Regions from separate parts of the Homo sapiens genome. Here all the other regions are linked to region 1. Evidence: promoter capture Hi-C in 16 types of primary human blood cells and fetal thymus (Javierre and others, 2016). All regions are on one chromosome and are shown on one strand. The core of a region is centred on a gene start or on the middle of the fragment in contact, and the rest is flanking DNA. Distances in the headings are between cores, read along the strand shown.

Region 1 (2,895 bases), core at 385-2,884:
CTGCGCATCCGCGGAAGAAGTCCTGGATGAGAGGTAGGGTGAAGGGATCAAGCAGATAGCAGCAGGCATCAGCACACTCCGGCCGTTCCGGACGGTCAGGCCCGCCGCTACAGGGAGAAGTGCGGCGGATGGAGCCAGGGCTGCGGGTTGCGCGCGGGCTGGGAACCCGGTGGTGCCACCTTAAGAGTCGGGTCCGCGCAGCGGCTGCGGAGGCGCCCGGCACCTGCAGGGGGCGCTGCTGCCCCGTGGTTTCTCCCGCGCCGCCGCGTGCAGCGGGCCTGGCAGCTCCGGGGCCCCGGTCCCCGGAGGGGGTGGGGACGCTGGGGGAGGAAGGGAGCGAAGTGCAGCCGTTAGGTAACGAACCCGAACCCTCCCGGATTCAGAAGCGGCCTCAGTGAGGCGTTTGCTGGAGGGAGCTTTCCATCATTCGGCCGCGAGAGGAAACGTGGGGAGGCGCCCTCCCCTGCCCCCACCGCCTGCCTTCCTGCCTCCCTCCACCTCCGCTCCCCGACCCCGACCGTGCTTCCCAGACCCTTTGTTCTCGAGGTTGGGAACGGCTGGGTGGGGGTTCCCCGGGGAAGAGGTCCCCCGCGCCGCTCGGAGGGGAAGGGACTGTCGCCTGCCCCGCACCCCAGCCCTCCCCAGTGCCGTCCCCCTTTCCCCCGGCCCCTTCCATCGCGTCCACGCGCTTCCGTTCTCACTCGGACTCCCCCAACTCCCGAGCTCCGGCTCCCCAGCCTGCACGGTCTGCAAGCCCGCCTCCCTTCCCACTTCCCCGCCACCTCTGAGGTCCCCGGGAAGAGGGGAGGAGAGGGAGACGTGTGGGGGAGGAGAAACCACAGAGCCTTCTCGGCGCGGAGCATTCCCAGGGACCCTTCCAGGCCCCGACCCCTGGGACCCGCTGCAGAGGCAGGGCTTTCCCGGCGCCGCCGCAGGTCGCTAGGGCCGCCCCCGCCGCGTCGCCCTGGGGCCCACGGGTGCACGGCCCGGGCAGCAAGGCAAGGTGCGGCCTCTCAGCGCCAGGACCCGAGACCCCCAGCTGGAGAGAAGGGGACACCGTGGTCCGCGCCCTGGGGAGGCTAATTGCACACGAACGCCCCCCTCTTCCCCGCCCCCCACCGTACCCTCTGCAGCGCCACCCGCGTCGCCTCTCCGCCGTGCGCCACCCTGAGGGCTCCCGCGATTGCATCTTCTTGAGCACAGTTACCAATGCGTTCAGCTTCGTTTCTTACTCGGATGGAGACATCGCGGAGGGAAGCGAGGGGACAGGGATGCGGTAGTAGGGGAAAGGTGGGGCGGGAAACCGAGCAGAGAGGTGGGAGACTTGGCTGAGGCAATGGCACCAGGCAGGGCCGCCCGGAGTCCCGAGTCCAGGTCCGCGAGGCAGGCCCCGGTGCAGCCGCGCCCCGGCCGAACCCTACATGTCCTCTGTACTGTGGACACGAGTCCGCGGAGCGCCAGTCACACCCCCGCACCCCTGCAAGCTCCCGCCGTAGAGGGGGCTCGGCACCATCCTGGTCACAAAGTACGTGCCCCCACCCCCCACCCCCAGGTGAAGAGGACGCAGCCCGGCGCCGTCAGCTCCAGGCTGCCTGGAGCCCCCTCCGGCCTCTCGGCGCGACCCTGGTCCTCAATGGCTCGTCGCGAGCTGCGCTAGCTGCTCTCTCGGCAGCGGGTTCCCCAGGACACACCCAGTCCCCACCCCCCGAGAGCTGGCGGCCAGCTCAGGATGCCAGGCGGCCAGGCGGGCGCCCTGCCAAATTCCGCGTTCCTCTCCAGGAGACGGGGAGTTGCGTCCCAGGCTCGGGAAAGCCCGCAGTTCGGGCTTGGGACTCGCTTACAAAGCCCCCCAAGGCGCCAGGGACGCCTCTGCAGGTTGAATTCCTGCTCCGTATCACTTCAATTTTAATTAATCTTTTAAAACACCGCTGTCACGTCGCTTGCAGAAAATTAATCAAACTTGAATCCTTGTTGCATAGCAAGAATTTCGATCCGAGTCTTTTAAAAAGGACTTGACTTTGCAAAGTCACGTCTTTTACAGTTCCCTCATTCCCCCTTTAGCAAGGGAAATACTGCAAAAGTCAAGACATGTTTGTTTGGTTCTTTCTATCTTCAAAATGAAACTTTGCTTATTTCTGATCTTTATTTTCCTGTCTTTGAACAAAAAAAAATAACGAGATAAATTGCCTACCTCGATTAATTCAAAGTATAATTACTTTGAATGATCTTTGTTTAAGAGCCCAGATAAACTAAGATAATCTTAATTTTAATGTGACACGACCCCTATTTTTCCTTGTGAATAATGAGAATAAAGCAGTCATTAATTAATACCAAGATATCTCCATAGAAGATGGTATCTGTTCTCGCTGAGACACTGAAACATCAGTTGTATTAGTAATTGATACTGTATAATTGAACATGAAGATAGCCGTCTATTTTTAACCTCCAAGCTCAGAGTTTATTTGGTGATTATTGAGCTCCTAATAATTAATTTTTTTCCTTCTTACTGCATAAATAATTCTTACGACTCCCAGTTCCCATGCAATGCAGAGGCTTCTCATTAAAACCTACCCCTCAAAATATAAGATTGTGAAGCTATATTGTGCAGCAACTCCTTCTATTTCATTATTTGTAACATATTTCCTCTATTTCATATCTTCCTGGTGCATTTCCTTTGCTGTGATTTTCCTACTAAATCTATGAGAATATAACTATAACATCTTTTACCATAGCTTTGTCTTTCTGTGATCTCTTGGTTCAGTTTAATACACAATACTTAAGACTTCAATTTTTCAAGTTACTAAAATTTGAGGATGAGTTCCACTGAAGAATCAAAAATACTTGTATAGTGAAGTTGCCATGGATTATATTCCCAACCTAACACACAGTCCACTT
Region 2 (2,709 bases), core at 122-2,621, 980 kb after region 1:
TGAGTATCTATGGTGCCTTCTAGAGCTGGTAATTGCAATGTGACCACCATGGACAGCCATTAGCATGTCTGCTCCACCCCTTCTTTGGGTACATGCCCCTCTGGTCCCCCAAACAGAGACCTGGGGCCTTCCTTCACACTCTCCTCTCCCTTCTTCCCCACATCCAAATGGTGACCAGGATTTGCCTTTACCCCGGAATCTTCTCTCCATGCACAGCCCATTCTCGGCTCAGGTTCTCCTTATTTCTCACCTGGATTAATGCTATGGTTTTTCTCAACATCTATGCTTGGCCTCTTTTGTGGGAGGCTTTTCTTGTCCACCTGCACCCCTCAGTCTTGGCAGGATGCCCTATATCTTTGCACTGCAACTTATCCCATGTACACTGATTACATATTTAATTTTGTCTCTTCCTCCAATTCACCATAAGCTTCTTGAGGTTGAAGACTGTGTTTTGTCCTTGAATGGCCAGCTCTGAACAATGCCCGACACATCGCTGATACTCATTGTCTGTTGAGTAAATGGAAGATGATTTGCAGTTGGTGCTGTGTTTTGTGTTACTGGGGGAATCTTGTCCTGAGGGATCTGAGTGTGAATATGCAGCTTCTCTATCTGGGGCTTTGGGTAAGTCCGAGTTGTTTTTTTGTTTGCATCTCTTTTGCAAAAATGAATGAGAACACAGAAAAATCAATGGCATTTAGCACAATGTTATGAATATTACAGGTCAGAAATAAACTTTGTTTTGTTTTGTTTTGTTTTGTTTTCTGAAACAGAGTCTCTTTCTGTTGCCCAAGCTGGAATGGCGTGATCACGGCTCACTGTAGCCTTGAACTTCTGGGTTGAAGCAATCCTCCCACCTCAGCCTCCTGAGTAGCTGGGACTACAGATGTGCGCCACCACCCCTGGCTAGTGTTTGTATTTTTTTTTGTAGAGATGGGGTTTCTCCATGTTGCCCAGTCTGGTCTCGAACTCATAGGCCCAAGCAATCCTCCTGCCTCAGCCTCCAAAAGTACTGTAGAAATACACTTTTTAAATTAAAACAGGCAGGTTGAATGGGGCTCAAACCTAAGGATTTAGTTTTTAGGCTCTATGATGTAGAAAAACATCTGTTTCTTCGATATTACCAAAACCTCAGCATATTGTATAGTATAATACTTGGTTATAGCAGGCATTTAAAAACAGTAAATAATAAAAACAATAAGAGCTATCATTTGAGTGCTTCCCATGTGCTATGTATTTCCTATTCTGAATATTATGTGAATATCTTTAGTCCTCACAACAGTTTTATGAAGTTAGTATTATTATTATTATCTCTATTTAACATTTGAGAGCACTGGGACCCAGAAGACTTCAGTGACATGGTTAAGAACAACCGCAAGTCAGTAATGGCACCAGATATGGACATGGTTGTCTAATTTCAGAGCCCACATGCATTAATCACTACGCCGAAATCGGTGCACACGTGACTAAATCTATGTCATCCTCTACTCAGCTAACTCTCAGCCGGTGAGAGACAGCTGCTGAAATGTGATTTGTAGCAGGCAGAGAAAAACCAGGATTTTTGTTGCTGACATCCTTTCTGATAGTCACAGTTAGCTTACTCAAATTCAGGCAAGTAATTGAAATAATCACATATGCTCAGGTGTGTTTAACATGATGTCTTTTCTTAGCTGTAACTGAAGGTAGACTTCACTCAAAGGCATTACTCCTCAACATCCATCTCAAAATTATCATTCTGGAAGATATTTGCTCATATTACTTGATTTGTGTAGGAGTTAAGGCTTTTTAAAGAATGGATGCAAAATATATTTAGTGCTAAAACATACAGATTTTTGAATCTTTTCTTGTCATGGCAAAAGAATGAAAACCATCTGCCTACAGCCACCCACACCTTTGGAACAGTTTTTACCCTAGTTGGCTTGGTTTTTACTTGTGGATTGAGAAAGATTAAGTATAACGTGGGCCAGAATCACGTTGGCATGAATATGGCCTGACTCTAAAAACTATTTTAGCCAAAAACTTTTAAAAGGCAGCTCTGGGAATTACCAACAGATGGGTTCTCAGATGACCAGCTTTACCTAAACGTGGCCAGAAGGTCTCCACCACACTGGGCAGGCTTGTGGGTTTCTTTAAAATAGTTGGTGAAAAACATCAACCCTAAATTTTACCTTTTCTCTCTGATGTCCACCACTTTGTATTACCAAACCATAAAAATGTGATCCACTGAGCCTACTCATATAAAACATCACAGAAGTGAAGAGGAAATTAGATTCTATTAATTTAGTGCTTTACTCAGTTGTTTAAAAAATGTGTCTGCCTCAAGCTTTCAGTTATAGTCTGGTTCACAATAATATTAAGACCTTTTTTTTTTCCTTTTTCCTCATTGTTAAGCACCAGTCCTAAGTTTTTAAACATTACTTAAAAATACATCTTTAGGGGTTACACCATGTGTCAAATTCTCAAAGATTTAAGGACACATGGAAGGCTTTTTTACAGTTAGGAGACTCAGTTATTTATGGCAAAATTACCAATGTGATACTGAAAAACATTTCTTCCAAGAGCTGTGCACAAATAAATGCATTAATTATTGCTTTAATATTAAGAACTAAAAAACAAAGAAACTGTTTTTAAAATTTCAAAGCCACTCCAATAAACTTCCCAGATTAACTTATCTCCCAGTTTGTCTGGTTTCTTAAGGAGCATGCCTGGACT
Region 3 (2,921 bases), core at 366-2,865, 850 kb after region 1:
CTTTTCTTCTTTCTTCTTTCTTCTTCTTTTTTTTTGGATGATTCTACCACCATCTGAACTGTAAGGTAGCATTTTATCACTACTGTGTCATGAGAAATCTTCAGTTTATAGGATGTGATCTTTAAAACTAACACATAATTTAAACAATTAACATGTTGACAGCAAGAATACTTAAGTGTAATGATTACTCTGGGTTTCTTTGAGGGGAATTACTACTGCACCTATGTGATACTTCGTTTTGTCACTAGGATTTTTGGCATTTATTCCTTGTGTGTTTTTATTGGGGGGCATGTATTTACAATAAAGTATATTTTATAATCTTCTAAACGCATTTTAGTTTGAAATAATTGTAGATTCACAACTGTAAGGGATAATACAGAGAGATCCCGTGTACCCTTTTCTCAGTTTCCCCAATGGTAACATTTTTCAAAACTGTAGTGCAATATCACAAGGAGGACATTGACATTGATAAAAATTCGTTGATCTTATATAGGTTTCCTCCTTTTAATTGTTCGTGTGTGTGTGTGTTTTGTCCTATAGAATTTTATTCCGTGCGTATCCACCACCAGCACAGTCAAGATACAGAACACTTTCATTGTCACAAGGATCCTCTCTCTTGCCCTTTTATAGCCACACACACCTCCTGCTATCCCTAACCCTGGACAACCACTAATCTCTTCTCCATTTCTAAAATTTTGTCATTTCAGAATTGATAATCCTTTGTTCTATAGTTGTTTTATATGGGTTGATTTTCTGTATTCTGTGTGTGTGTATGCACCCGTACTCCTCCAAGTACCCAGAACAATACTGGGCACACAGTATTTCATATACACAGACTAACACAGACTAAGGTATTAGAACATGTTACATTTTAGAAGTGTATTTAAAAGTAATTTTAAAGTGTAAACTTTTAAAGTTTTTTCTCTCAGTCCCTCTCAATGACCTTTGTGAATGGACATTTACTACTTAACAAAGATTTAGTTTCTGGACAATATGAATATAGCCAAACTAAAACTTTTAAAATGGGAAAATAATTGATATTATTTTCAAATTTTAATACTGAGATGTTAAAGTATACATAACTTTTAAGATACGGAGTATCATGTTTTAGTGAGTAGTGGCAGGTTAGCTCCTCCCATAAGAGTGCAATGTAGACTTCACAATGGAACTTAATCCAAATTGACTGTATAAGTGGCTTAGATATAAGATTCTACACTTATGGTCTGGCTTAGGAAAGATGAATACGAAAGGAATATAACTTTATGTTTTGAAATTCTCTGCACTTGACTAATATCTGGGTAGCATGCTAAAATGTTTCTTTTCCTGAGGGACTTATTTTTAACAAATTTCATGTTATCGAGATTCAATTCAAGCATTCCTTTAGCAATTTTAAATACAGACATAATGAATATTCAATGTATTTATTCTTTTGATTAAAAAAGAACCTGTAAACTTTGTTATGAAAACTTTTCTTTCTTTCTTTGAGACAGAGTCTTGCTCTGTTGCCAGGCTAGAGTGCAGTGGCATGATCTCGGCTCACTACAACCTCCGCCTCCCAGGTTCAAGCGATTCTCCTGCCTCAGCCTCCTGAGTAGCTGAGACTACAGGTGTGCGCCACCATGCCCAGCTAATTTTTGTACTTTTAGTAGAGACGGGGTTCCAGCATGTTGGCCAGGATGGTCTCGATCACTTGACCTTGTGATCCACCCGCCTTGGCCTCCCAAAGCACTGGGATTGCGCCCGGCCAGTTTTCTTTCTTAATAGTCAGTTTACTTAACCATTCAAATGATTTGTTCTTTTAAAAAATTACAATTTTAAAAAAGGGCTTTAGAATGAGCCTCAGTATGTGTAAATCAATTATACATTATGGTCAAACTTTTTTTCAGTCAAATGCCTTCATTTGGTAGCTTCAGATACCAATGCATATTACTCCTGACTTTGACATACTGTCTACATACCTGGAAGATTTTGTTTGTTTTCTCATTTTTCCCTCCAATATGCTAAGTAAATATATATCATGGATCCAAGATAATGTAAAAAATATTTTCCATATGGGTATCATGATCAAACCAGTAATTCCCTTGTTAAGAATTTTTGAATTTATTCTATGTGAAAGGAATATTAAAGGTGAAAATTGTCAATGGAGTTTTTATTTCATTTTAAGTCTCCAATCTTTTTTATTGTGTTTTTTATACACTAATAAGAGAATTTGCTTTATTAAATATGTCCAAAGTAATTGCCAAAGCAGACAAAGTATGTTGCAAGATCTTTTCTTCAGAGTTATTTGGAAAAGATTAAGTTTGATTTCCTTCTTTTTTGTTTTCGAGACAGGGTTTCACTCTGTCGCCCAGACTGGAGTGCAGTGGTGCTATCTCAGCTCAATGCAACCTCTGCCTCCCAGGCTCAAGTGATTCTCCTGCCTCAGCCTCCTGAGTAGCTGGGATTATAGGTGCGTACCACCACACCTGGCTAATTTTTGTTTTGTTTTGTTTTGTTTTTTTAATAGAGAAGGGTTTTCACCATGTTTAGCCAGGCTGGTCTCGAACTCCTGACCTCAAAGGATCCACCCGCCTCAGCCTCCCAAAGTGCTGGGATTAAAGGCCTGAGCCGCCACGCCTGGGTAGTAAGTTTGATTTCTAAACAAAATTATTACTAGAAAGAACGGTGTACAAAGCATCTATAACCTTGAGGTGTTTTTTTTTTTCCTCACTGAGGTTTTATTCCTCTAAATTAAAAGAACTCATATGAACAATTAAAAAGTTTAATGTCTGTTATAAAATTTCTTTATGTACTCTCAAATTCTATATGTTTGAACCATTACCTCTTGCAGCTATTTAAAAACAAATTTTGATACTTCCCGTCTGAATAATTAGTAACACATGACTGTAATAGTAGAGATAATACATTGTTACTTCTACCAA
Region 4 (2,700 bases), core at 121-2,620, 830 kb after region 1:
TGAAAAAGTTACTTTTCTAAATGTACTTTTAGGTGAATGATAAAAGATACTTACGATGCCCAGCAGCAATGACTGTGATGCACTTAAGAAAGTTTCTCAGAAGTAAAATGGACATACCTAATACTTTCCAGGTATCTACTTTTATATTCTTCTTGCATTTTACATAGATTTTACAATTTTAATTACATTTTTCACTTTGGATTTTGAACCCAAAAAAGCAATAGAAAAAAAATGTGAAGTTAGTGCTAAAGTTGAAATTTATCTTAAAACATTTGGTATACATTCTCTTTTATGCTATGAAAACAAATCCCTTAACACTCTCTAGAAATAATTTTTTCTCATTTGAAGTTTCAGGAGTCTTTCTTTGTTAAAATGTTTGGAGAATATGTTTCTTAAAGCACTTTTGGATTATATTTAAATGACAAAAAATGTACATTTACCTTTGTTCTTTTATTACTTAATAAAAATATTTTTCACTAGATTGATGTCATGTATGAGGAGGAACCTTTAAAGGATTATTATACACTAATGGATATTGCCTACATTTATACCTGGAGAAGGGTAAGTAGCATATCTGTTGTTAGATTATGATGGTAAACTATATTTAAAGAATTAAGAGTAATTTTTTTCCTTTTAACTTTGTAGAATGGTCCACTTCCATTGAAATACAGAGTTCGACCTACTTGTAAAAGAATGAAGATCAGTCACCAGAGAGATGGACTGACAAATGCTGGAGAACTGGAAAGTGACTCTGGGAGTGACAAGGCCAACAGCCCAGCAGGAGGTATTCCCTCCACCTCTTCTTGTTTGCCTAGCCCCAGTACTCCAGTGCAGTCTCCTCATCCACAGTTTCCTCACATTTCCAGTACTATGAATGGAACCAGCAACAGCCCCAGCGGTAACCACCAATCTTCTTTTGCCAATAGACCTCGAAAATCATCAGTAAATGGGTCATCAGCAACTTCTTCTGGTTGATACCTGAGACTGTTAAGGAAAAAAATTTTAAACCCCTGATTTATATAGATATCTTCATGCCATTACAGCTTTCTAGATGCTAATACATGTGACTATCGTCCAATTTGCTTTCTTTTGTAGTGACATTAAATTTGGCTATAAAAGATGGACTACATGTGATACTCCTATGGACGTTAATTGAAAAGAAAGATTGTTGTTATAAAGAATTGGTTTCTTGGAAAGCAGGCAAGACTTTTTCTCTGTGTTAGGAAAGATGGGAAATGGTTTCTGTAACCATTGTTTGGATTTGGAAGTACTCTGCAGTGGACATAAGCATTGGGCCATAGTTTGTTAATCTCAACTAACGCCTACATTACATTCTCCTTGATCGTTCTTGTTATTACGCTGTTTTGTGAACCTGTAGAAAACAAGTGCTTTTTATCTTGAAATTCAACCAACGGAAAGAATATGCATAGAATAATGCATTCTATGTAGCCATGTCACTGTGAATAACGATTTCTTGCATATTTAGCCATTTTGATTCCTGTTTGATTTATACTTCTCTGTTGCTACGCAAAACCGATCAAAGAAAAGTGAACTTCAGTTTTACAATCTGTATGCCTAAAAGCGGGTACTACCGTTTATTTTACTGACTTGTTTAAATGATTCGCTTTTGTAAGAATCAGATGGCATTATGCTTGTTGTACAATGCCATATTGGTATATGACATAACAGGAAACAGTATTGTATGATATATTTATAAATGCTATAAAGAAATATTGTGTTTCATGCATTCAGAAATGATTGTTAAAATTCTCCCAACTGGTTCGACCTTTGCAGATACCCATAACCTATGTTGAGCCTTGCTTACCAGCAAAGAATATTTTTAATGTGGATATCTAATTCTAAAGTCTGTTCCATTAGAAGCAATTGGCACATCTTTCTATACTTTATATACTTTTCTCCAGTAATACATGTTTACTTTAAAGATTGTTGCAGTGAAGAAAAACCTTTAACTGAGAAATATGGAAACCGTCTTAATTTTCCATTGGCTATGATGGAATTAATATTGTATTTTAAAAATGCATATTGATCACTATAATTCTAAAACAATTTTTTAAATAAACCAGCAGGTTGCTAAAAGAAGGCATTTTATCTAAAGTTATTTTAATAGGTGGTATAGCAGTAATTTTAAATTTAAGAGTTGCTTTTACAGTTAACAATGGAATATGCCTTCTCTGCTATGTCTGAAAATAGAAGCTATTTATTATGAGCTTCTACAGGTATTTTTAAATAGAGCAAGCATGTTGAATTTAAAATATGAATAACCCCACCCAACAATTTTCAGTTTATTTTTTGCTTTGGTCGAACTTGGTGTGTGTTCATCACCCATCAGTTATTTGTGAGGGTGTTTATTCTATATGAATATTGTTTCATGTTTGTATGGGAAAATTGTAGCTAAACATTTCATTGTCCCCAGTCTGCAAAAGAAGCACAATTCTATTGCTTTGTCTTGCTTATAGTCATTAAATCATTACTTTTACATATATTGCTGTTACTTCTGCTTTCTTTAAAAATATAGTAAAGGATGTTTTATGAAGTCACAAGATACATATATTTTTATTTTGACCTAAATTTGTACAGTCCCATTGTAAGTGTTGTTTCTAATTATAGATGTAAAATGAAATTTCATTTGTAATTGGAAAAAATCCAATAAAAAGGATATTCATTTAGAAAATAGCTAAG
Region 5 (2,924 bases), core at 120-2,619, 920 kb after region 1:
ATTTGCCGAGACAGAGGCAGTGGAATACGCACAAGACACTAAACACAAAGCAGGCATATTTAATGTAGTATGGAAAAACAAATGACAACCCCATATTTACAGGATATTGACCTGTTTTTCTAACCCCTTCCTCTCAAAGAAAACCCTTTTCCTTAAAGAAAGGATGAAAGGTTTGCTTGTTTCTAAACTTGATTTGAGGTCCTGCTTAACATAAACCCTGACCTTAAATTCCTGGGTGAGGCCCATCTCCCATCCCAGATGTCAAGTTTAGAAACCAACCTTGAAAGAATGAAGAATTTTTCTGTTGTGTTTTCAAATAGCCAATTCTTTGATTAAGATAGGTGCTACCAAATGTTGAGGTTTATGTACACTGTGGCTTATTCTGCCACAGAATTCACTGTTTAGAAAATGTTGATTTGTAGCTCTTCTGCTTCTTTCAGGTGATTAAAAGGATCAAGTGGCTGTCCTATAATTATTACATTTACCAGTTGTTTAAGAGACTTTTGACTTTTAAAATTAAATTTGTTCATGCACTTATTTTTCTAGTAACATAAATACTTACATTGTTTTGTTTTTACAAGGCCTTGGTAGGCCATAAAATTAGATGCATATTCAGTGATATTACTTTAGAGAATGGTGGGTTTTATTGTTTTTTAGGTATCAATAAGTTAATTTTTAAAAAAAAATTAGGCAGTATATGAATGGATAAAGAAAGAAGCAAAAATATGACTCCAGATCTCACAACCCAAAACAGAATTGTCATTAACAAGCTGAGATAGTTCCAAATAGCTCTCCAAACCTTTGTACGGCTAGAAAAATTCCGGAAAAATGTATTCATGCTACACATGTTATTTTAAAATTAAAAACAAAAGTTACTGCAGTTTGCTTGTTTCGTGGAAGATAGAGTTTTCACTTTGTTTTTAATTTTAGTGGGTTTAGGGAAAAATATTTCCTTGGGGATTAAGTTAGAGGTCAATACAAAATATTTATAAATGGGCTTCTGTTATTCATGATTGATACATTTTCTGAAGTAGATTTAAACTGAATGCTGGATAAAGAATATTATATCAATATATATCATTATTGCAAAGTGATTTGGTATGGATATTTATACATTAAATAAAGCCTCTAAATTTCCTCACGTATATAGAATTTGTGGTAATACACTCTCGCTAATTTTTTTGTTTTTTTTTGAGATGGAGTCTCGCTCTGTCACCCAGGCTGGAGTGTAGTGGTATGATCTCGGCTCACTGCAAGCTCCGCCTCCTGGGTTCACGCCATTCTCCTGCCTCAGCCTCCCTAGTAGCAGGGACTACAGGCGCATGCCATCACGCCCGGCTAATTTTTTTGTATTTTTAGTAGAGATGGGGTTTCACCGTGTTAGCCAGGATGGTCTGGATCTCCTGACCTCGTGATCCACCCGCGTCGGCCTCCCAAAGTGCTGGGATTACAGGCGTGAGCCACCGCGCCTGGCCCACTCTTGCTAAAATTTATGCATTACTGATAGTAAATGATTTACTCAAAGTATTTTTGGATATAAAGAAGTCCAACTCTATGAAAACTATTGTAACCTATATTGAGTGTTCTGTTTTTTTATTTCTGTCTGCATGTATAGTTTAAGTCATACAAACAATACAAGCGAGTAAAGTGCCAAAGGGAATGTCAACATTTTCCCATATTTTTCTTCACTAACTGAAGATGACCTTTTACTTAGATGAGTGAAATGTGTCCTGTTCTCAGTCCCCAGTGTCACCCAGCACTGTGATGAGCACACAGGAGAACCAGCAGCAGGTTGGACTGAGAGTAAGAGCCTCTAGGCTTCTGGTTGACCTTAGGTCACGCTAGCTCTGACCACAGCAAGTCTCCTCAAGTCTCTAGGCCTTAGTAGACCCGTATAAGAATGTCAAAACTACCACCCCAGTCAGTGGCCTTGGCAAGTTGCTAATAGCACCCACTACATCAGATTCTGAGGATTAAATGAGGATGAGCCAGCAGAAGGTGTGGCATGTAGTAAATGGTGCCACCGTTACTCTATATATCTTTGTATAATATAAAAGGTGCCCAGTCCTCAAGATAGTTTATTTCCATCTGGCAGAAATTATTGTAATAGTCTTATTTTGTTAGAGCAACACACTTTACTGCCATCTGCTGGAAAATTATCTTTATAAATATGGAAATCTGTGATGTCTAATATGTGAACTGTGCCCCCTGAGAAGTGCTGGTGCCCTTGTGAAGTACACAACCTGTGTGACCATGCACATAAGTGCTTGATAAATCATATTTGCTACTCTTCTTTTCACTTTTGTAATGGATTTCCAAAAGAGTTTCAGATAAACAATGATACTGGATGAAGAAATTTATTTTAAAAAATCAGAGTCAAAGTTAATATCAATAAAAAGAATCAGCATTTTGTTGCAACACCTGGAAACATTTTTGCCCACTACTTCCCTCACTTCCCCCTTCCCCCACAGAAAAGTGTGCTCTGCAATAAAACCTGCAATCTAAGTTAGCAGAGATGCTAATTAAGCCATTATTCTTGCATTTATAAACACTGTATGTGAGACCAAATTTGGGGCCACATTGTATGTATGCAAAACCAAAGCACATTTTGGAATAACCCATATGGCCTTTTCATCTTGACTTTAAAAATTGAATAAAAAATATTATATTAATAATGTATCATCACTGCAAGATGGCAGATCTCCGGAAAGCGACACTTCTGGGCTTCATTTTCTTCATCTCAGAACCTGGGTTGGGACATAACAGGTGTCCCTCTCTTCTAGCCAGACAGTCCTTAATGAAGGGATATCATAGTACCATTTTGAACACAAAAGGAAATATTTGGCTCATTTTCATAGCTAGCTGTACAGTCATGGAGAAGACTGACCAAAGTTGGATAAAGGAGAGTTTATTGATAACGGGAG
Region 6 (2,700 bases), core at 153-2,652, 900 kb after region 1:
TTGGACATTTCATTTAAATGGAGTCATACAACATATATAACCTTTTTAGAGATAGGGTTTCTTTCTGTTGCAGACTGGAGTGCAGTGGCATAATCAACTCATTGAAGCCTTGAACTCCTGGGCCCAAGTGATCCTCCTGCCTTAGCCTCCCAAGTAGCTAAGACTACAAGTGTGTACTGCCACATCTGGCTAATTAATTTTTTCTTTTTTTGGAGAGACAGGGTCTCACTGTGTTGCCCAGGCTGGTCTTGAACTCCTGGCCTCAAGCAGTCCCCCACCTTGACCTCCCAAAGCACTGGGATAAGAGGTGTGAGCCACCACACCTAGCCATGTGCCTGCCTTCTTTACTACTTACTTGAAGTTTCACAGTTCGTCCATGTTGTGGCATATATCAGTATTTTGTTCCTTTCTATTGCCAAATAATATTCTATTGTATTAATATGTCACATTTTGTTTATCCATTTACCAGCTGATGGACGTTGGATTATTTCTACTCTTGACTATTATGAATAATGCTGTTATAAACATTATTGTAACAAGTTTTCGTGTGGATGTATGTTTTCATTTCTCTTGGGTATTTACCCAGGGATGAAACTGCTGGGTCAATAGATAACTCTGTTTAACATCTCGAGAAACTGCCCAACTGTTTTCCATTGTACTACCAGCAAGGTATGATGGTTCCACTTTTTCCACATCTTTGTCAACTCTTGTTATTATCTTTATTTTTGATTGTAGTCATCCTAGTGGGTTTGAATTGGTATCTCATTGTGGTTTTGGTTTGCATTTGTCAAATGGCTAATGATGTTGAAAATCTTTTCATATGTTTATTGGCTGTTCATACGTCTTCTTTAGAGAGATGTCTATTCAGACCCTTTGCTCATTTTAAACTGGGTTATTTATCTTTTTATTATTGAGTTGTAAGAGTTCTTTGTATATTCTGGATGCAAGATCTTATCAGATGTATGATTTACAAGTATTTTCTCACATTCTGTGGGTTATCTTATTTTCTTGATGATATTGTCTGCAGCACAAAAGTTTTAAATTTTAATGAAATTCAATTGCATATGCTTTTTGTGTTGTATCTAAGAAGGCTTTGTCTAACCAAAGGTCATAAAGATTTACTCCTATGTTCCTCTTCATTTTAATAGCTATTACTCTTTGGACCACAATGCTTTCAGAACAAAAATAACTTTCTGAAAAGAATTTTTAAAAATTTTTCAGCAGTTTTCATTCAAGATAATTGTATTTGTTTGTTCTCACACTGCTGTAAATAACTACCTGAGACTGGGTAATTGATGAAGAAGTTTAATTGACTCACAGTTCTGCATGCTGTACAGGAAGCATGGCTGGGAAGCCTCATGAAACTTACAATCATGGCAGAAGGCAAAGGGGCAATAAGAATGTCTTCACATGGCAGAGCAGGAGAGAGGGAGCGAAGGGGGAGGTGCTACATGCTTTGAAACAAGCAGATCTCATGAGAACTCTGATATAGTTTGGCTCTGTGTCCCCAGCCAAATCTCATCTTGAATTGTACTCCCATAATTCCCACGTGTTGTGGGAGGGACCTGGTGGGAGATAATTTGAATCATGGGTGTGGTTTCCCCCATACTGTTCTTGTGGTAGGGATTAAGTCTCATGATAGTGGATGGTTTTATCAGGGGTTTCCACTTTTGCATCTTTCTCATTTTCTCTTGCTGCTGCCATGTAAGAGTGCCTTTTGCCTCCTGCTGTGATTCTGAGGCCTCCCCAGCCATGTGGAACTGTAACTCCAATTAAACCTCTTTTTCTTCCCCATGTCGGGTATGTCTTTATCAGCTGCATGAAAACAGACCAATACAAACTCTACTATGTTTACTCTCCAACACTGAGAGCAAGCCATATCAATAATCCACTAAGGAAAGCAACAATTAGTAATTTTTGGTATTCTTCCAATTTTTAGTGAAAAACAATTGAAATTGTATTGGTTTCCCATAGTATTGTCAATTTTATTTTGTTAATTGCTATTTTTATGTGTAGTGTTAAGAGGTAAAAAAAATAGTGTTGTTACTTACTGTGGTTTTTCCAATAGCCCTAATCAGGGAGGATACAGTCAGTTTTTAGAAATGACGGAAAAATGAATGAAGTTAGAACTGTAGATGCTATGCTAGTTAATAGGTAAACCAGGCCCAAACCCTCAGAATGCCCTCAATAGATAGCCCAGGATTCCTTCTCTGACATCGTCATATATTGTATCTAAGGATAAACATTAACTACTAAATGCAATGACAATTAGGAAAATTTATAATCTGTTATTCATTAGCTCAAGGTAAGATATTACTTGATTTACTGAACTAGGTAAATAGGAGAGTTTTTTTGACCCCATAAAATTTCTGTACAATTCATGGTATGGAGTTGTAAGGGCTATTTTATTTTGCTCACAGCCATAAACAACCAATCATAATGCATATCTTCTAGAAGGTAATGAATCTTAAAACCAACGTGTGACATGATCTTGTATGTAAAAAAATCCTAAGGAATTCACACACACAGACACACACACACACGCACACACACAAATCATAGAACTAATAAGAGTTCAACAAAGTCATGGGATACAAGATCAATATACAGAAATCATTTGTATTTTCTTTTTTGAGACAGGGTCTCACTCTGTTGCCCAGGCTGGGCTGCTGCCCAGGCTGGATTGCAGTGGTGCAATCT
Region 7 (2,700 bases), core at 71-2,570, 950 kb after region 1:
TATTGTAGCTTTTAGGTAAAGTGTACCTTTAAAAAAAGGTACAAAATAGGAGGTAGGAAGGATTCTCATGACCACCATCAGAAATGATCTATCACATATAAAAAGTTAGATCTGAAGGGACCTTAAATGATCCTGTGATCCAATGTCTTCATTATATAGATAAGGAAAGTGAGGATCAGAAAGCAGACCTTGCCAAAGGATACTAGTTGGTGATAAAAGCAGGACTGGAATCCAGACTCCTGACCACAGTCTTCCTGTCACTCCTTCCACATCCTCAACAGGATCAGGGAAAAGGATGCCCTGGTCTGTGTCCCACTGAAACACATAGAATTTCCAGGGGTCAGTACAAACAGTCAAGAACAGAGATTTCTGTGCTCTGTTCCTAGTTCTGAGAGACTATGGACACGTTCCTGTAACTATTCCATGAGTCAGTGTCTATAATAAAGGTGAATGGAACAATGTTTAGAAATAGAAAACCATGGGAAAACAAGAGCACCTATGCCACACATCTTGGCTGGCAGTGCCATCTTCGGTGTCCTAGGAGTGTGTTGATGGGAAAAGACAAGGAGGGTTATGGAATGATTGAAATGTTATTATTTACTTAGGTTTTACTAAATTAATAAACCCACCTTTCAGGCATGTAAGGTGAGAATTATTGCTAGCTTTTGTAATGTGCTCTATAGAGTAAGATGGAGTTGAAATAATAAATAGTATAGCAACCCATAGTAAAATGCAAATGTTAGTATTTAGGGAATTTGAAAAAGTGAATACAGTTTACTCTCTTTTTAGTGTACTTTCTTCACTCAGAAAAAATGACTTTGAGCCTTGTCCAAAGTCTCAGACATTTATCAGATGTATTTAATTCCTCTGGATGCCGAAGATGCTTTTTAAAAAATGTCTACAACAGATGTTAAAATGCTGTCAGCTGAATGATTCGCTGCTGGGACATCAGAGAGTAATACCCTGCTGATCTGTGGCAATTACCTAGGTAGGGAACAATGGACTTGAACTTTGGATGGAATCTGAACTTTTTTCTAACACAAAGTCATATTTGAAAAGTGAATGATTCAGCAGGGAAAGTTTTTTTCAAGAGAACATTGATGCATTTCTGAAGATTGGGTTTTTCTTCATTTTGGTTTTGGTTGTTGTTACTTCCTCATTTTTCTAATACCTGTATCTTAAAACGATTATATAATAAGCATTTTATTAAATGAGGGCTGGGACGCTGATTTGCATCTAAGAGTTGTGGCTTTTGTCTCATAGTTGCAGGCTGGGAGGAGTCTGCTCCTTCACAAACATGAAATACAGTTGCAGAATAATAACTCTACTGCCAAGTGGAAAGTGGTGAAATTATGGAAATAATTCAGGCCGAAAATATCTACTCTTGTTTGGATAACCCCAGCTGGTTAGTGCTTTGGTACCGAATGGATTCCCCTTGCTTTAAGTTGGGTTAAAAAGGGAAAAACAACCTGGAATGTAAAGAAGTCAGCTTAGGGCTCCCTTAGAGTTTAACCTCAGCAATCCTATAAAATTTAGCTTAGTCTGGGCCCAAATATTTCAGTTAAAGACCTTTAAAAAAGCGATATTTCCACTCTCGGGGCTGCCATTTTTTGAAATATCTGGACTACGCAACATGTGGTATTATTCATTACCCATGCAGACTTTTTACCTGGGTAAATGCACATTTTGCCAGTTTTTGTTTTTCAGTCAACATTGGCAATCATGTACAGGTGACCAGTACTACCTTAGGAACTCAGGAGCCCAGCATGAAATGAGACTCATGACAGAGATGAACCAAAATTTCTAGGTCTCCTACATCCCTGCCTGGCTGGCTGCCACTTCCCCACCATCACTGCTATTCCTGTGGGACTAACGGTTTTAGTCACCTCCTATTTACCACATTGGTGAGGAAGGGATTCTCACCCTAAGGTTATGCCATTGGCCAGACACACAGCACCTGACACTGGACACTTGAGATTGACAGCAGCTTATTAGTCACATGTACTCATAGCCAGGGGGAGAAGGATACGGCACACAAGAGTGAATGAAGATTGTCCTCAGGAACTGAATGAATAAGCAGGGGCTTGGGAGGCAGGCTTTGTGGTAACAAGAGGGTGGGGTGCCCCCTGCTTCCTATAGGATGATGTGATTGGCTTGTTTCAATTCCATGGGCTGGCAGGGAACTGAAACCCAATACTCAGGGATAAGCGGGAACACCACCTGGTCCACTTGATGAGGAGGGTAGCTTGGCTAGGGGACCTTATCTGCTGGAACGGAGAGGGAAGAAGGCTTTCATTTGAGGCAGGCCCTCTTGATTTTCCCCAGATGACAAGTAATACTGCTCCTTACTTTTAGGCCTGACACCACAATAGCAAAGTTAGGACATTATTTCTTGACTACCATCTACTATGCCCTCTTATAACTGGGAGGGAAAAAAAGAGGTGGAGTGTGGCAAAGGATGCAGGCCAAATGCTTCTAGTAAATACTTTCAATTTGTCAAAAAGCAAATGTATACAGAATATCTTTATATGCCATCACTAGAGTAGGCACAGGGACTTAGAGAGGAGTGGACCACAATCTTATTTGGAAGGAGTCACATGGAGGAGATGGGAGGACACAAGTAGATGATTATAATACAGAGTGATGCATGTGGGAACTGAGAGATTTGCACATGTGCTGTGAGAGCACGGTGATGGGAGC

What was found. Contacts are between HindIII fragments. The CHiCAGO score rates a contact against its expected background, and 5 or more counts as called.
Region 2: a contact is called between a fragment that was not itself captured here and the fragment with the promoter of MIR1915HG in region 1, in 1 of 17 cell types (naive B cells). The highest score is 5.2, in naive B cells.
Region 3: a contact is called between a fragment that was not itself captured here and the fragment with the promoter of MIR1915HG in region 1, in 2 of 17 cell types (total B cells and naive B cells). The highest score is 12.1, in total B cells.
Region 4: a contact is called between a fragment that was not itself captured here and the fragment with the promoter of MIR1915HG in region 1, in 2 of 17 cell types (fetal thymus and total B cells). The highest score is 7.5, in fetal thymus.
Region 5: a contact is called between a fragment that was not itself captured here and the fragment with the promoter of MIR1915HG in region 1, in 1 of 17 cell types (total CD4 T cells). The highest score is 6.3, in total CD4 T cells.
Region 6: a fragment that was not itself captured here is called in contact with the fragment with the promoter of MIR1915HG in region 1 in 1 of 17 cell types (total B cells); the score reaches 7.1 in total B cells.
Region 7: a contact is called between a fragment that was not itself captured here and the fragment with the promoter of MIR1915HG in region 1, in 1 of 17 cell types (total B cells). The highest score is 5.0, in total B cells.

The regions. Positions count from the first base shown.
Region 1 is chr10:21,495,626-21,498,520 of GRCh38, forward strand. MIR1915HG (MIR1915 host gene) reads right to left here and starts at 1,635. Exons shown (of 2, transcript NR_160800.1): 1 at 1,125-1,635; 2 at 1-320. MIR1915 (microRNA 1915) reads right to left here and starts at 1,016; the gene lies at 937-1,016. RefSeq lists silencers at 116-555, 606-655, 866-1,115. The HindIII fragment of the contact is 8,649 bases long and covers 1-2,895 here.
Region 2 is chr10:22,471,768-22,474,476 of GRCh38, forward strand. It overlaps LOC105376450 (a long non-coding RNA gene), which reads left to right. Exons shown (of 3, transcript XR_930748.1): 2 at 428-621; 3 at 771-810. Among named protein-coding and RNA genes, the nearest start is that of LINC03027, 35 kb to the left of the region's middle. The HindIII fragment of the contact is 1,893 bases long and covers 426-2,318 here.
Region 3 is chr10:22,346,527-22,349,447 of GRCh38, forward strand. All of the region lies in intron 2 of SPAG6 (sperm associated antigen 6), which reads left to right. Among named protein-coding and RNA genes, the nearest start is that of SPAG6, 2.5 kb to the left of the region's middle. The HindIII fragment of the contact is 4,311 bases long and covers 1-2,921 here.
Region 4 is chr10:22,328,568-22,331,267 of GRCh38, forward strand. COMMD3-BMI1 (COMMD3-BMI1 readthrough) reads left to right here. Exons shown (of 14, transcript NM_001204062.2): 12 at 33-131; 13 at 481-561; 14 at 646-2,700. The coding sequence ends at 975. BMI1 (BMI1 proto-oncogene, polycomb ring finger) reads left to right here. Exons shown (of 10, transcript NM_005180.9): 8 at 33-131; 9 at 481-561; 10 at 646-2,700. The coding sequence ends at 975. Among named protein-coding and RNA genes, the nearest start is that of BMI1, 8.8 kb to the left of the region's middle. The HindIII fragment of the contact is 3,822 bases long and covers 1-2,700 here.
Region 5 is chr10:22,419,157-22,422,080 of GRCh38, forward strand. No RefSeq gene overlaps it. Among named protein-coding and RNA genes, the nearest start is that of LINC03027, 17 kb to the right of the region's middle. The HindIII fragment of the contact is 3,225 bases long and covers 1-2,924 here.
Region 6 is chr10:22,394,681-22,397,380 of GRCh38, forward strand. All of the region lies in intron 8 of SPAG6 (sperm associated antigen 6), which reads left to right. Among named protein-coding and RNA genes, the nearest start is that of LINC03027, 42 kb to the right of the region's middle. The HindIII fragment of the contact is 3,647 bases long and covers 1-2,700 here.
Region 7 is chr10:22,442,439-22,445,138 of GRCh38, forward strand. The region is part of intron 1 of LOC105376449 (a long non-coding RNA gene); the gene reads left to right. Among named protein-coding and RNA genes, the nearest start is that of LINC03027, 5.9 kb to the left of the region's middle. The HindIII fragment of the contact is 4,760 bases long and covers 1-2,700 here.